Linked DNA regions of Homo sapiens: region 1 is linked to region 2. Evidence: promoter capture Hi-C in 16 types of primary human blood cells and fetal thymus (Javierre and others, 2016). All regions are on one chromosome and are shown on one strand. The core of a region is centred on a gene start or on the middle of the fragment in contact, and the rest is flanking DNA. Distances in the headings are between cores, read along the strand shown. Region 1 holds the start of DUSP12 (dual specificity phosphatase 12). Region 2 holds the start of COPA (coat protein complex I subunit alpha).

The links. Contacts are between HindIII fragments. The CHiCAGO score rates a contact against its expected background, and 5 or more counts as called.
Region 1: a contact is called between a fragment that was not itself captured here and the fragment with the promoter of COPA in region 2, in 3 of 17 cell types (naive B cells, non-activated CD4 T cells and total CD4 T cells). The highest score is 5.5, in naive B cells.

The regions. Positions count from the first base shown.
Region 1 is chr1:161,745,693-161,753,463 of GRCh38, reverse strand. DUSP12 (dual specificity phosphatase 12) reads right to left here and starts at 3,678. Exons shown (of 6, transcript NM_007240.3): 1 at 3,319-3,678; 2 at 1,683-1,796; 3 at 1,480-1,598; 4 at 1,000-1,096; 5 at 203-389. The coding sequence starts at 3,662. RefSeq lists enhancers at 2,662-3,308, 3,370-3,879, 5,451-5,500, 5,601-5,680. The HindIII fragment of the contact is 1,306 bases long and covers 3,900-5,205 here.
Region 2 is chr1:160,337,431-160,344,963 of GRCh38, reverse strand. It overlaps COPA (coat protein complex I subunit alpha), which reads left to right and starts at 1,714. Exons shown (of 33, transcript NM_004371.4): 1 at 1,714-1,833; 2 at 4,670-4,783; 3 at 4,982-5,055. The coding sequence starts at 1,794. NCSTN (nicastrin) reads right to left here and starts at 1,581. Exons shown (of 17, transcript NM_015331.3): 1 at 1,483-1,581; 2 at 138-242. The coding sequence starts at 1,567. RefSeq lists enhancers at 1,512-1,561, 834-1,781. The HindIII fragment of the contact is 9,711 bases long and covers 1-7,533 here.

The DNA.
Region 1 (7,771 bases), core at 3,303-5,802, 1.4 Mb before region 2:
AGTAGTTCACTATGTTGGATCAGCTGGTTTTTGAAAAATATTTTATTTTTGATAGTCTTATCTACACTAGAAAGATATAATCTTCAGAAATAAAGAAATTAAGAAATGGAGCAAAACACTAGTTAAAATAGAGCTTAAAATGCAAGAAGGAATAAAATATAGATCATAAAATAAAATTGTAGAAAATAAAATGTGTTCTCACCTGTCCATCCATCACTCCCAACAAAGCAGATTCCATCCACTGTACAGGTTCAATGAAATAAGATGTACATTGAGCTTGCCTCCCTGTGGTAAGCATGGAAGATGGTGTCATTCTCTTGTGGGCAAAGGCTATAGGTCCACTTCCTTCACGGTGATCCAGAATACTAGAACTTCGAAATAATGATCGCCTGCAACCCCCAAACAAACAAAAGCATTAATGACTTCCAAAAGGATGAAAACATGGATGAAATGTGCGGTATTTCTTTTTTTTTTGAGACAGAGTCTCACTCTGTCGCCCATGCTAGAGTGCAGTGGCGTGATCATGGCTCACTGCAACCTCCGCCTCCTGGGTTCAACCAATTCTCCTGCCTCAGCCTCCTGAGTAGCTGGGATTACAGGCACCAGCCACCATGCCCAACTAATTTTTGTATTTTTAATAGAGACGGGGTTTCACCATGTTGGCCAGGCTGGTCTCAAATTCCCAATCTCAGGTGATCTGCCTGCCTCGGCCTCCCAAAGTGCTGGGGTTACAGGCGTGAGCCACTGCGCCCAGCAAAATGTGCAATATTGCTTAGAGAACAAAATAATGTAACATTGATTACACTACTTAAATTTTCAATAACCCTTACAATCTGATTATTTCTCTTTTTAAGAATTTATATTCTTTCTGAAAACAGATCTGAACTAAAAATTTCAATTAAACAAAATCTTCCTACAGAAATTTAAGAAAATAAAACATTAAGTACTTTTCAGCTACTGAGACAAGATAAAATATCCAAAGGATATAAAATAGTTTACCTGCACTTTCTACACTTGTAGAGAACCTCATCTTTCAATCCTTGTGAAACGGTAGTTGGGTCAACAGCAAAGAGTTCTTGAGGTAAATTCTGCAATTCTATATGACATAATTAAAATGTATTTATTTGTCAAAATCAACTCTGCATTTTCAGATAAATTCAGTTAATGTCAAATTGAGGCAACAAGTGCTAACCTCAAAAATTAAAAAAAAAAAAAAATCAAATTCCAGTGTTGAGAAATCAGGCTAAGGTAGGAGAGGACAGTGATTTAAGTGCTTAGGTTCTGGGCACGGGCTGCCTGAATTCAAATCCTGACCCTGCCATTTATAAACCATGTGATTTTGAATAGGTTATTTCTGGCTAAATCAGTTTCAAAAAGAAACAATAGTTTCTCAGGGATTGCTGGAAGTAAGGTAAAGCATACAATGCTAAAGTAAATGTCATCTAGAAAGCCCATTACACACTAGCAATTATTACTTACCTGGATACTTCTCTGTAACCTTTTGTAAACGATATTGCTTATAAATTGCACTAGAGGTATCCACTTCGTATCCCATTGCCTGGTATAATTTCAGTTGCCACTCAAACCCCTCATTCATCCTGTAATGATAAAGAAATATAAAGTTTCATTTTCTTAAAATTATATCACAAAAGCATAATTATTACTATAAAAAAAGAACCCACTTAGCCTCTGGTTTGAGAATCTGGAGCTTTTCATAGGCTTTTTCAAAGGGAAGTTGGTCAGTCTTCATGAGAAAAGCAGTTATTATGGCCACACTTCGACTGACTCCTGCATGACTGAAAAAGAGACCTTTAAAATAAAACAGCAAATAGCAACAATTAAAAAAAAAAACACACAAAGCCCAGCCCCCTATTAATAGTAAAGTTTAGGCCCACTTCATTTTTGCTTCTCAAATAAGCCCATTGCCTCTGAAATATTATCAAGGTACAAAATAATTATTCCTTTTTCCTTTTGAATTCTGAACCACGTGAATCTATTACCTATTCAAAAATAATAACAGTAATTTTTAAAATTTTTATAATGGCTCAGAACAAATCCAAACTCCTGGCTAGACACAGTGGCTTACCTACGCCTGAAATCCCAGCACTTTGGGAGGCGAGGTGAGAGGATTGGTTGAGTCCAAGAGTTGGAGACCAGCCTGGGCAACAAAGTGAGACCCCACCTCTACAAAAAATTAGCCGGATGTGGTGGGGTCTGTAGTCCCAGCTACTCTGGAGGCCGAGGCAGGAGGTTCACTTGAGCCTGGGAGGTTGAGACTGCAGTGAGCCGTAATTACGCTACTACACTGTAGCCTGGGTGACAGAGCAAGACCCTATATCAAAATAAAAATAAATAAAACAAAACAAAAACAAATCCAATCTCCTTTCATCTTAGCATTCAGGGACCTCAAAATCTGGTCCCAGACTTCTTTTGATTTCATCACTATCTTCTTTTATGTGCTCAATAAATTTAAACGATTATTATACTCCAATCCAACCAAGAACTGCTTAGGGATTCCCATTTTCTTTTTTTGGGGGGAGGGATGGAGTCTCGCTCTGTTGCCCAGGCTGGAGTGCTGTGGCATGACCTCGGCTCACTGCAACCTCCGCCTCCCAGGTTCAAGTGATTCTCCTGCCTCAGCCTCCCGAGTAGCTGGGACTACAGGCGAGAGCCACCACGCCCGGCTAATTTTTGTATTTTTGGTTTCACCATATTAGCCAGCCTGATCTCGAACTCCTCACCTTGTGATCCTCCTGCCTCCCAAAGTGCTGGGATTACAGGCGTGAGCCACCGCGCCCTGCGGGATTCCCATTTTCTTTTTGTCTTTGCTGCAACCATCTCCTCCCTAGGCAAAGCCCAGGGATCCTTTAGATCCAAACCAATTCATCTCTTCATCAACCACCCGCCACCCATCCCAAACAAAAACATTTAACCCTAAATCTTTGTAAATCCCGTTTACAAGACACCAAGCAACCTAATCTGCATTACAATAATCGGGGTGGGTGTCTAGCTTCTCCAACAGAGCTGTAAACTCCTTAGGGTGTAGGTAATTTGTCATTTATCAGATGACACCTCCCCCGCCCTCTGCTGCTGCAGGAAGAACCAACTAAAGCATGAATGAATGAAAGCCTGCACACACCAGGGGCCCGCCTCAACCCTCCTCCTCTCTTGGAAACACGCCTCCTGCGGGAGGCAGCGGGAGGAGGTTCACGCGGCATGACCGCGCTCTTGTCCTCCCGACGGCCTCGGAAGGTAAGGGGCGACGGGGGCCGGCTGGAAGCTTGGCGGGGCACGTCACCCACTGACCCGGCCACTCACCAGTGCACCAACACCGCACGGCCCTCAGCGCGGGCCTGACCGATGAAGGCCACGCACCGGTCCAGATGGCTGAGTAGGTCCGTCTCGGGTTTGTCCAGCGCTGGCACGAAGAGGCGCCATAGATCCTCGACCCCAGGCCCCGCCTTGAAGCTGGGCTCCTCCGAGTCCACTGTTAGCACGGCCGTGATGCCCGCTTCCCTCAGGTGATCTGGCTCCGCGACGGCCGCGGCCCCACCGAAATACAATCCTGGCTGCACTTCCAGCATCTGCCCGGCACAGCTGACTCTGCTGGCGCTGGGGTTGCTGAGCTCGCAGCCATCACTCGGGCCCGGAGCCTCCAACATGGCCGCGCCCAGAGACAAGGCGGCTTCCTGCCCTACCATCGAGTAGACTCCGGCTAGAACATCCTTCCCCTGGGACTCGCCAGCCTCGGCGGCTCTGCTGCTCCCTCGGAGGACCACGTCGGCCGCAGGAATCTGGACTTATCGCTGAGGGGCGGAGCTTCGGCCCCATTCAGCGCGGCCTTTCCACCCTTGTTCCCTCTGACCCCTACCCCCAAAGTTGATGGTGAAGGATAAGCTTCCCCAAATACAGGGTTTCTCGAGCTCTTAGTATTGAAATTTTCAGGAAAGAGACATCAGGAGCAGCTGAACTCAAATGTGAAATAAATGTCGCACCAGCTGAATCAGAAGCATCATTTTATGCATTTGAAGTAAAATTTTTTTCAATATTATGGAGCCATCTTTACTGTGCATTTCATGATTATTTTTCCTTTTTCTGCCCAATTTCATTATTGGGGTGTGAATCCTTGTTGATGTTTACTGTCTATTTATTTTGAAGATACTAATCCTATATTTTTGTAAGTCAATGTCCTCCGGCCAGGACTACAAGAAACCAACTTTAATTAAGCAAGTTGGTTTTATTACTCAGTCATGAGTTATGGAGAATTTCAGGGCATCTCAGCACGAGGATGTTAGGAAGATCCTCTACAGATTTTGGGCTTTTATTTGGGGATTTTGGAAAGGGTTGAAGGAAGCAGGCTTTGCTCCAGACTGAATGCTGCAGGAAGATACTCAGTACAGTGAGTATATTTTATATATCTTTTGTATAGGGAGGACAGGTGAGAGAGATACTAAAGCTGTAATTGGTCAAGAAGTAGCAGCTATAGTACTGGTATAAAGATAGATACATCGACGTGTCTCTATTCTGGAACAGAACAAACCCTTGCGTGTGGAGTCCTAATTAGGGAAAAGGAGTCAGGCTGGCTGGACGAAGGGAAGCAAAAGGAGAAAGCAGACAAGCCATAAGTCTGCCTTTCTTCGTGGTCCAGGACACATAGCCCTGCTGTGCAAATAACTCACAATCTGCCTGTGCCCAGCCATCACCAGACCCTCAGCTGATAGAAAAATGGAAGTTAGTTCACTGCAACCCTGGCATTATTAGTACTGCACAAAGCCCTCTTCCACCCACAACATAAGCACCATTCTACAAAATCCCCAGCAAGCCTTTGTTTCCTAGCAGTCAGCTTCTCTCTTGCTGACCTGCCTGTTGCACCCTTGCAATGTATTTTCATACTTTATCTAATAAACCTGCCTTTCTTTACCTACAACTGTGTTGGTAAATTCTTCCTACCACCCATGTCACCAGCCCAGAAAGCTGCTAATCACCTGCAACACTGCATATATGTTAGAATAATCTTCAAAAAGAGTGCCAAGACCACACAATGGAAAAAGGACAATCTCCTCAACAGTGTTGGGAAAAACTAGATATCCACATGCAAAAGAATGAAGATGGACCTTTACCTTGGACCATACACAAAAAATAACTCCAAATAGATTAAAGACCTAAAAATATAACATTCTTAGTAGAAAACATAGGGGGAAAGCTTCATGGCCTTGGATTTGATAAAAATGTTGAAACAGGTAAGGGTTAATGGTCTCATTGTCTAAGGTGTTATCCGAACTTGTCTAACGACCGAGAAAACTAAGGAGCATGGGCACAAAGAGTGAGGTTGAAGCAAAAGTTTAATAAGCAAAAGAAGAAAGCTCTCCACAGCAGAGAGGGGAGCCCAAGTGGGGTGCCATTTTTACAGCTGAATTCAAAACCTATTATAAGAAACTCCTCTCATCTCTATAGTTGTTTGAGTAACTTCTCTTATGAATAAATCTGTCTGTGCAACTTCCCTTATCTTCTGCCGATGTGGGTATGTCTCTAGGCAAGCACAAAGCGTGGGTTCTCTTGTTTGTATCACTGTAGGTTTGTTTTAGGTAAGCCCCCCTCCTTCCTGTGCAAGTTCCCACGGAGTCCACTGTGTATATACCTGAAAAGGGGAGGAAAGTTTTTCCTGGGAGCTCGCCAATTACACGAAGAATGAAAAGCGTCTGTGCTGGACCCTACCTGCTTATCTGTGCAGGTGCAGCCTGAGTTTTGCCTAAGCTGCTCTATTTTGTTTGTAGCTGTGATTTTTCAGGCAGACTGCTTCTCCAAGGGCTAGCCTTAGCTGTCTACCTAACTGATTTTTCCTTTTCTTCTCCCTCAATTTTTTGGATAAAATACCAAAAGCACAGGCAACAAAAGCGAAAATAGACAAATGGGACTATATCAAATTTTAAAGTGTCTGCATATCAAGCAAAACAGTCAATAGAGAGAAAAGGAATTTGTATGGAATGGGAAAAAATAATTGCAAAGCATATATCTGATACGTTAATATGCAGAACATATAAAAAACTCCTACAACTCGACAACAGAAAAACAAGTAACCCAATTTTCAAAAAACTGGGCAAACGACCTGAATAGACATTCCTCCAAAGAAGATATACAAGAGGCCAAAAAGCATAGGAAAAGATGCTCAAATTGCTAATCATTAGAGAAATGCAAATCAAAACTACAATAATAATATCATCTTACACCCATTAGGATGGCTAGTATTTTTTTCAAGCACAGAAAATAAGTGTTAGCAAGGATGTGGAAAAATTGGAACGCTTATGCATTGCTGAAGGGAATGTAAAATGGTGCACCCACCAGGGAAAACAGTACGGAGTTTCCTCAAACGATTAAAAATAGAATTACCACATGATCCAGCAATCTCACTTCTAGGTTATATAGCCAAAAGAATTGAAAGTGGGATCTCAAAGATATTTGCACACCCATATTTATGGCAACATTATTCACAATAGCAAAAAGGTAGAAGTAACCCAAATGTCCATCATGGATTAATGGATAAAGAAAATGTGGTATGGGCCGGGCGCGGTGGCTCACGTCTGTAATCCTAGCACTTTGGGAGGCCGAGGCAGGTGGATCACCTGAGGCCAGGAATTCAAGACCAGCTTGGCCAACATGGCAAAACCCTATCTCTACTAAAAATACAAAAATCAGCTGGGCATGGTGGTGGGTGCCTGTAATCCTAGGTACTCGGGAGGCTGAGGCAGGAGACTCGCTTGAACCCAGGAGACGGAGGTTGCAGTGAGCCAAGATCATGCCACTGCACTCCAGCCTAAGGGATGGAGCGAGACTCTGTCTCCAAAAAGGAAAGAAAGAAAGAAAGAGAGAGAGAGAGAGAAGGAAGGAAGGAAGGAAGGAAGGATGGAAGGAAGACGGAAGGAAGGAAGGAAGGAAAGAGAGAGAGAAAGAAAGAGAAAAAGAAAAGAAAGAAAGAAAGAAAAAGAGAAAGAAAGAAAGAAAGATGGTATATGCATATGATGAACTATTATTCAGCCATATAAAAAGAGGGAAATTCTGTCACATGCTACAACATAGATTATCTTTGAGGTCGGGCACGGTGGCTCATGCCTGTAATCCCAGCACTTTGTGGGGCTGAGGCTGGCAGATGACCTGAGGTCAGGAGTTTGAGACCAGCCGTGCCAACATGGCGAAAACCTGTCTCTACTAAAAATACAAAAAAAAAAAAAAAAAAAGGCGGGGCCCAGTGGCTCACACCTGTAATCCCAGCACTTTGGGAGGCCAAGGCAGGCAGATTACCTGAGGTCCGGAGTTCAAGACCAGCCTGGCCAACATGGTGAAACCCCATCTCTACTAAAAATACAAAAATTAGCCAGGCATGGTGGCAGGCGCCTGTAATCCCAGCTACTTGGGAGGGTGAGGCGGGAGAATCACTTGAACCCCCTTGAACTCATGCCACTGCACTCCAGCGTGGGCAACAGAGCGAGACTCCATCCTAAAAAACAAAAATGAAAACAAAACCTTAGCTGGGCATGGTGGTGCATGCCTGTAATCCAGCTACTCAGGAGGCTGAGGTAGGAGAATCCCTTGAACCCCGGAGGTGGAGGTTGCAGCGTGCCGAGATCGCATCACTGCACTCCAGCCTGGGTGACAGAGCAAGACTCCATCTCAACAACAATAAAAACTTTGAGGACATTATGCTAAGTAAAATAAGGCACGACTGTAGATGCTGAGGATATAAAGATGTATGACAGTCTTTGCCCTCAAGGAACTT
Region 2 (7,533 bases), core at 465-2,964:
GACAGACGGTTATCTGTAACTGCCTACATACAGTCCAATATAAGTGTCAAATCTCCTAAGCAGGACATGGATGTTACTTAGTATCTAGGGCACAGACAAATATCAATGTCCACAAACATGAATCCATCTCAACTCACACTGGCAGCCAATCTGATGAGTGGCGTTGAGCAGGCGAACACAGGGAGCTGTTTTATTTAAGGGGATATATATCTTCCTCTCCACTGAGTTTCCCCTGCACAAACCTGATCGGAAGATAAAAAGTGTTAGAAAAATTTGAGAGACACAGGTACTAGCTTCTATCGTGTCATTAACCTGAAGTATGGCTTGGGTAAATCATTTAATATCATACTTTCTAAAATGAGATTAAAGTCCATTCTTCTGATTTCTTGGGCACACACTTATCGTAACAGATACATGTTCTACATGGCACCCAGCTATGTGCCTCAAAGGGTTATTACAAAGTCCATGTAGCGCCATTGACAGTGACACTAAAAGAGAGAAAACTTGGTCAAAGGAAAGGTGTTTGACCTTAGATTTGCCAGATTCTGGTTGCACAGGTGATCACACTTCTGCTTGTATATCCTGTATGTATATTACTAATTGGTTAATACACAGGTGCTGGGCTAAGAAAACTTTCTGAGGCATTTTTCCAAGAGTGTGAACAGAATTGAGAGAAACCTTATGACATACACGGGTCAGTTAATTTAACATCAGCAGGTCATTTGTGTGCCCACAGTGTGGGGCAGCTGTAGTTTCTCCTTTGAGGATCCTTAAAAACAATGTGAATTGGGGGAAGGCACAGTCATAGTTATATACAGGCATTTGCATTTTAGGGCTTGACCAACTAAAAAGCCATGTATCAGTAAATGAACGCGTATCAGCAAACACTTAAGTACATTATAAATGCCAAAAGTTCCTTGAATTGTTACTTCAGGGTCTTCACAGTTAAGAGTACCCATATCCTACCTTATTCTTGCTTTACTGATTAAAAAAAAAAAAAAAAAAAAAACCTGAGGCAAGGCAGGGGGACACAGACTTAGGATGTAATCAACAGAGGAAGAAATAAGAAATCCACCTTTTAAGCGCCGCACAGCACCCACAGAACAAGATTGCTTTCGTCTCAAAAAGTCTAAACGCGAGGAAGAAAGCTAACTTTCACACCTGTTCCTTTCGACTGTGGGGTGGGTGGCTGGGGTTGTGGGAAAAACGAGACATCTGGACAAAGTGGGAGAGGGTCAGGCTCGAAGTCCAGGAAGAGGCCTAGAGAAGGGAGTGAAGCGACACGACGTGCTGCGGGGGAGAAGGGACCTTCAGGTCCAGGCAAAGGGGGAACTTCTGTCGTGGGAACGAAAAAGAAAGAGGATTTACAGGGTGGGGGGACAGAGGGGCAGCAGGAACCAGAAGGGAGACAGTGGCGGTCGCGGCGGGGCCGATCCGAGAGTTCCCCTTAGAGAACGGAGCTCACGGGCGGGGAGGCCTCACCTGCTAGTAGGACGCAGAAAGACAGAAGGCGAAGGAGACCCCGACTTCCCGGGTCAGCCCCAGAGCCACCCCCTGCCGTAGCCATCTTGCCTCTCTGCTGAGCGGAAGCCCCCGTTCGGCTCCTGTCTGTTAGCGGCCTCTCTAGGCTACCACTGACACCGTCTCTGTGGCCCGGAGCCTAAGAGACCGGAAGTTCGTGTTTCCAGGCGCTTCCGGAAACCGCGGGAGAGGGTCGCTGACGTGGAGGCGTCCGAAGGGCAGCAGGGTGTGTCGGGGCTCGGATTAAGACATCGGAGTCGGAGACCTGAGAGATGTTAACCAAATTCGAGACCAAGAGCGCGCGGGTCAAAGGTAGTGGAGAATAAAAGGGGGAACATGGAGGTTGGATGTCAGGAGCGGCGCTGACACCGGGGAAGAGAAAATGGGTAGAGGTGTTGGTCGAAATGGGCCCACCAGACGGACCCGGAGGAAGACGGAGGGTGGGAGAGAGGTTGGGCCTGGCTAGCGGTTCTCCAGTCCCCTCTTCTTTGGTGTGTCCTTGGGCTTCGATTTACCTATAAAGTGGCTCCCACACTGCAGGGGATTCCTTAGACCCCCTCCCTATTCTTTCTTCCCCCTTTCTCTCTTGGCTGTGCTCCCGATTTGTGTTGTTCTGCTCCAAAGGCCCTGTGATCTGTTGGCTTTTTGATGACTGTGTTATATGGAGTGGCCCTGGGAACTGAGTCTCGATCTCTGTTACTCGCACCCGAGTCAGTAGCCTTTTTGGAGACGAGTAGTGGCAACCTCACTTAAGGAGGCCTTGGCTGCAGCATCTCAACATCAGTGCCTCCATTCGGCTTTATTTACTACCCGGAAATAGTACTTGAGGCTTATAACCCCAATAAAGTCTCAACTTGATAGAGTTGCCAGATAAAATGCAGGATACCCAGTTAAATTTGAATTTCAGGTAAACAATGAATAGTTTTTTAGTCTGTCGTTGCTTACCAGAAGTTCAAATTTATCTGGAAATCTCGTATTTTTATTTGCTAAGTACGGCAGCTCTAGAGCTCGAGTGTGGGTCGTTGGGGGTGGAGGGCAAATACTGAGATCGCAGTATTAGCCTCAGAACGTTAGAATGTGAAAGTCAGAGAAGTAAGGTCTCCGAAGACCTGGAAAAAATAGTATCTAGAATATTTAGTGAGATGCAGCGTAACAAAGTGGTTAGGAACTTGGTCTTTGAAGTCAGATGGGCTTGCCTTGGAATCCTGAGACATCCACTAACAAGCTGTGACTTGGATGACTTACTTAATGTCTCTAAGTCTGTATTTCCTCATCTGTAAAATCGTCTTTTATAGAGAGTATTAAAATGAGAAAGTATATGGAGTGTATTTATTACAGCGCCTGGTGTAGACTCAGTAGCTCAAAAACTGGAGGTTGTTATCAATGTGTGAATATATTCTGAGCAGTTTCTAAGTCTCTTGGGAAACTTGACCTTGAAAGATGGGTACCATTAAGAATTTCTGAGACCTGTATAGGTGAAATGTGAAATGGGTCTTCATAATCTTTCAGTTTTCTTTTCTGCTCCTAATTTCTTGCTGGGCAGTACAGAAGGAAAAACAAAGATGTCATAATATTTGAGGGCAAACATCCATTGTTGAGTGTACTTATATATCATAATTAAAAAAAAGAACCTAATGGAAAAATAGACAATTTAGAAGAAAAATTGTAAATGTTCAATAAATAATTAAAATAGTTCCACCTCACTAGTAATGAAAGAAATGCAAGAAAAAAAAAGTTAAGTTACTTTTTTGGGGGGAGGGTCTTAGATTTATAAAACAAAACAACAAATAGCTGATAGCAGCCTGTGTGCAAAATGGGCACCTCCATAAACTTCATGAGACTGTATATTGATACAGTGTTTTTACATTTAAACTATATGTACTAAAATGTTAAGTGCACATATTCTATTCCTGAGCAATCTCACAGGTCTTTAGCCTAGGGCAGTAATAATGCAAATAGGCTAGATTATGTGTAGAAGTATCTTCAGTAGGCTCTTCTGATAGCCAAAAATTGGCGGACAAAATGCCTGTTAGAATAATATAAGTGTAGTACATTTGTCCCTTGTAGTTAAAAAGAATGAGGTTATGTTTATATGTACTTCCATGAGATCCATATTATATAGTTAAGTGAGGAAGAAGTTTGCAGAACAACATCATAACGTGATCCCCACTTTCATAAAATACTAAAGCCTATGTCTATGTGTAACTGCATTAAAAATCTGAAAGGATACACTTCAAACTGTTAGTAGTTGTTACCTCTGGGGACTTCCATTTCCAGTCATGATAGAATAACAAGAGCCAGATTTACCTTCCCACCTTAACTATACAACTGAACAAAATGTATGAAACAAAGGTTCATACATTGCTCACAGATGTTGGGCAACAGGCAGTGCAGGAAAATAATTCTCCAGAGAAGGCAAATAAACAAGGTGAGTCCTGTGATTGTCGTAGATTACTGCCTAGAGAGTTTTTAGGCTTCAGTGAAGAGGGGAATCCCTTGGTCTTTCTGAGGAGACATAAATTTAGAGTGTGGGGAAGCAAAGATGGCTAGATTTTGTTGGGCAAAATACCGGAGAAGAGGGGGCTGCAGAGAGAGAGCACTAGAGATCTGCAGGATGTCTTCTCAGGTCTTTGTTTGAGTACTGATCTGCATGTGAGAAAACTATTCAAAACCTGAAAAAGGACCACTGGAAAGGAGAAGGCAGAGCAATCCCCAGAGTTCACACTAGTGAACTGGGACTAGTTTGTGTTCCTACTTGCCAGAAAGGAAAGACTTCCTAATATTACAGGGCTTCAAATAGAGACCTCAGATGGCTATTGCTTTAATAGTGGTTCCAGATTAAGCCTAGAATGAAGGCTGCTGTAGCCCCTCTGTAATAAAACCTAAAAGCAAGCCTTGAAAGGATCAACTGATTCCAAGTAACTTAATTGTATCCTAGAGCAAAGCCCAAGAATATGTAAAGGAATATGACAAAAATCTAGTACCAAACATAAAATTCACGATGTCTGGCATCCAGTAAAAAATCATCAAGCATGTCGAATGAATGAACCTAGGATTAACCTTGATGTTTCTTTTTCTTATCAGAATTGACAGAAGGTGACATCATGGGGCTTAGTTAGCTCATTGTATCATTTTCTATTTTTTTCAGGGCTCAGCTTTCACCCCAAAAGACCTTGGATCCTGACTAGTTTACATAATGGGGTCATCCAGTTATGGGACTATCGGATGTGCACTCTCATTGACAAGTTTGATGAACATGATGGTGAGATATTTCTAGGAGGAAGTTAAAGGAGTATAAGTATTTATAATATCCTGGGGTATTTTAAGCCTTGTTTGACATGGATTCCTCTATGATTAAAGAATGTGGAAATGATAGAACTGAAAAATCCTGAATAGGAATCACCTTAGAGATTAGAAAGGATAGCTCTGTCTAACATACATTGCCTGCCTTCTCCACCAGGTCCAGTGCGAGGCATTGACTTCCATAAGCAGCAGCCACTGTTCGTCTCTGGAGGAGATGACTATAAGATTAAGGTACAGAGGGTCTGTCATAACTGAGAATAAAGGAAAGAGGATGTGGGAAGGTTTGGGAATCATGAAAGGAACTGAAAGACAGGAAATTTCATTCATACAGAGCTCAGGCCTTTGACAACATTATCCGGAGAACTTACTCAGCAAACATTTATTGAATGCTTACTGTGTACCAGACACTGTTTTCTTTTTAGGGAATTCAAAAATAAATAAGAAATGGCTTCTGTTTTCAAGGAGCTTTTATTCTAATACAGAAGATAAACATATATCCAAGTAATAGCATGTACAGTTTGGTAAGCAATATAATAGAGAGATATTCACAGTGAAATAGGAAAGAGCAGTATAGGTGCAAAGACAAAAAGCATGACACAGCTAGATACAGGGCAGCTGTTATTGGTTTTGTATGGAGAAAACCTGGAGAAATGGTGAGAGAAGGGGCAGAAGATGAGAGGGGCCAGATCATGGAGTACCTGTTTGTGGCGCTCAGGAGTTTAGATGTTATCATGCAGATAACTAGGAGCCATTTGAGGAACTTAAATACAGGAGTGATACCAGATTTATATGTTTTTAAAATGATTACTTGGTGGTAATTAAAGAAAAGATTGGATGATTTGGGCAAGACAGGAGGCAAAAATACCAGTTAGGAAACCTGAGCTTAGGTAGTAGCATTTGAAATGGAGAGAAGGAGATGGATGTGAGAATTTAAGGAAATGAATCAGTGTGTCTGTTGGGTGATGGCCAATAAGGAGAAATAAATGAGATGGCCAATAAGGAGAAATAAGGGCCAATAAGGAGAAATAAATGAGCTGACTTTCAGGCTTCTAGTTTAGGTCACTGGGTAAAGGGGGTGTCATTAACTAGGAAAGGAAAATCAGGAGGAGATAGTTTTCTGGAGTGGAAGAGAATGGATAATGAATTCCATCTTGTCTCTGGTGATTTTGAGGGACCTAAGGGACAGTCTAGTTGAGGTGTCTGTGCTAGAAATATATTTGTGATTTGTCGTCATGAAGGGAGGAGCCAAAGGAGAAGCAGTAGAAGATATTGCTCAAGGAGTACGTTGAATAAGAAGACAGACCATCATTTAAGGGAGAGAGAGGAAGTAGAGTTAGTATGGGAAACAGTGATTCGAGGGGTTCGAGATGAACCAAGAGGGAGAAGAAGCCTCTTGGATGCCAAGGAAGAAGAGAATTTTGGGAAGGAGAAAGTGTTCAGAATAAGATCAAGATTGAGAAATAACCTTTGAATTGCTTAATTTGGAAGGCCTTAGTGTGAAATGAGGAAGCAGACAGAATATAGGCAATTCTTTAAAGACAACTGACTATCATAATAGCAAAAGTTAGAGCCAGAGACTAGCAACCTATAAAAATAAATCAAAATTTCCTCTGTTTACTTCCTTTAGTTGTTTTCATTAAGTCTATGTGTCAAACCGAACCAGTGAAATTTAATTCATAAAAAGGTAAAGTCTTTTCATAAGCAACTTCAAGAAGTTATATATTGTGATTATACCGCAGAACTTAGGTGATGGGAGTAAAGAGTGACAGCTGCCTACAGAGAAAAGAGCTATTAGAATTATAGGAAGGACATTTCTTTCTGTTTTCTAGTTTTTAGGCACCACATCCTGGGGCAATCAAAACTCAAACCACCTGACAGATCTCAAAAGCCCATAAGGATATCACCTCATTATAGTATTTTTGTATTTGTTATTTATAGTGATGAACATTGAGTATCAAGAATGGTTAACTTGGGATTCTTATAATCTGTTTAAAAAGGAAAAACTGGGTGTTAATTAAGAAAAAGTTTTCCCAAAATGACTAATATTTTGGAAAAGAAATTATCTTCCACTTATGAAATGTCCAGAATAGGTAAATCTATAGAGACAGAAAGTAGGTTAGTGATTGTCTAGGGTTGGAGGGGTTGGGAGGAAATGAGAAGTGACAGCTAATGGGTATGAATTTCTTAGGGGAGTGAATAAAAATGTTCTAAAATGGATGGTTGCACAACTGTGAATATATTAAAAGCCATTGAGTTTTATACTTTATATGAATAAATTGTATGGTATTTGAACTGTATCTCAATAAAGCTGTTATTAAAACAAAGGAATTCTTTATTAGCTGGTAGGTGTGTAGTGCTATCATTTGGTGGGTTTTTTTGGTTTGTTTTTTGTTTGTTTGTTTGTTTGTTTGTTTGTTTTTTGCGATGGAGTCTTGTTCTGTTGCCCAGGCTGGAGTGCAGTGGCGTGATCTCGGCTCACTGCAGCCTCCACCTCCCGGGTTCAAGTGGTTCTCCTGCCTCAGCCTCCCGAGTAGCTGGAATTACAGGCATGCGCCACCAAGCCCGGCTAATTTTGTATTTTTAGTAGAGATGGGGTTTCTCCATGTTGGTCAGGCTGGTCTTGAACTCCCGACCTCGGGTCGTCTTCCTGCCTCGGCCTCCCAAAGTGCTGGGATTACAGGCGTGAGCCACCGCACCCGGCCCATTCGG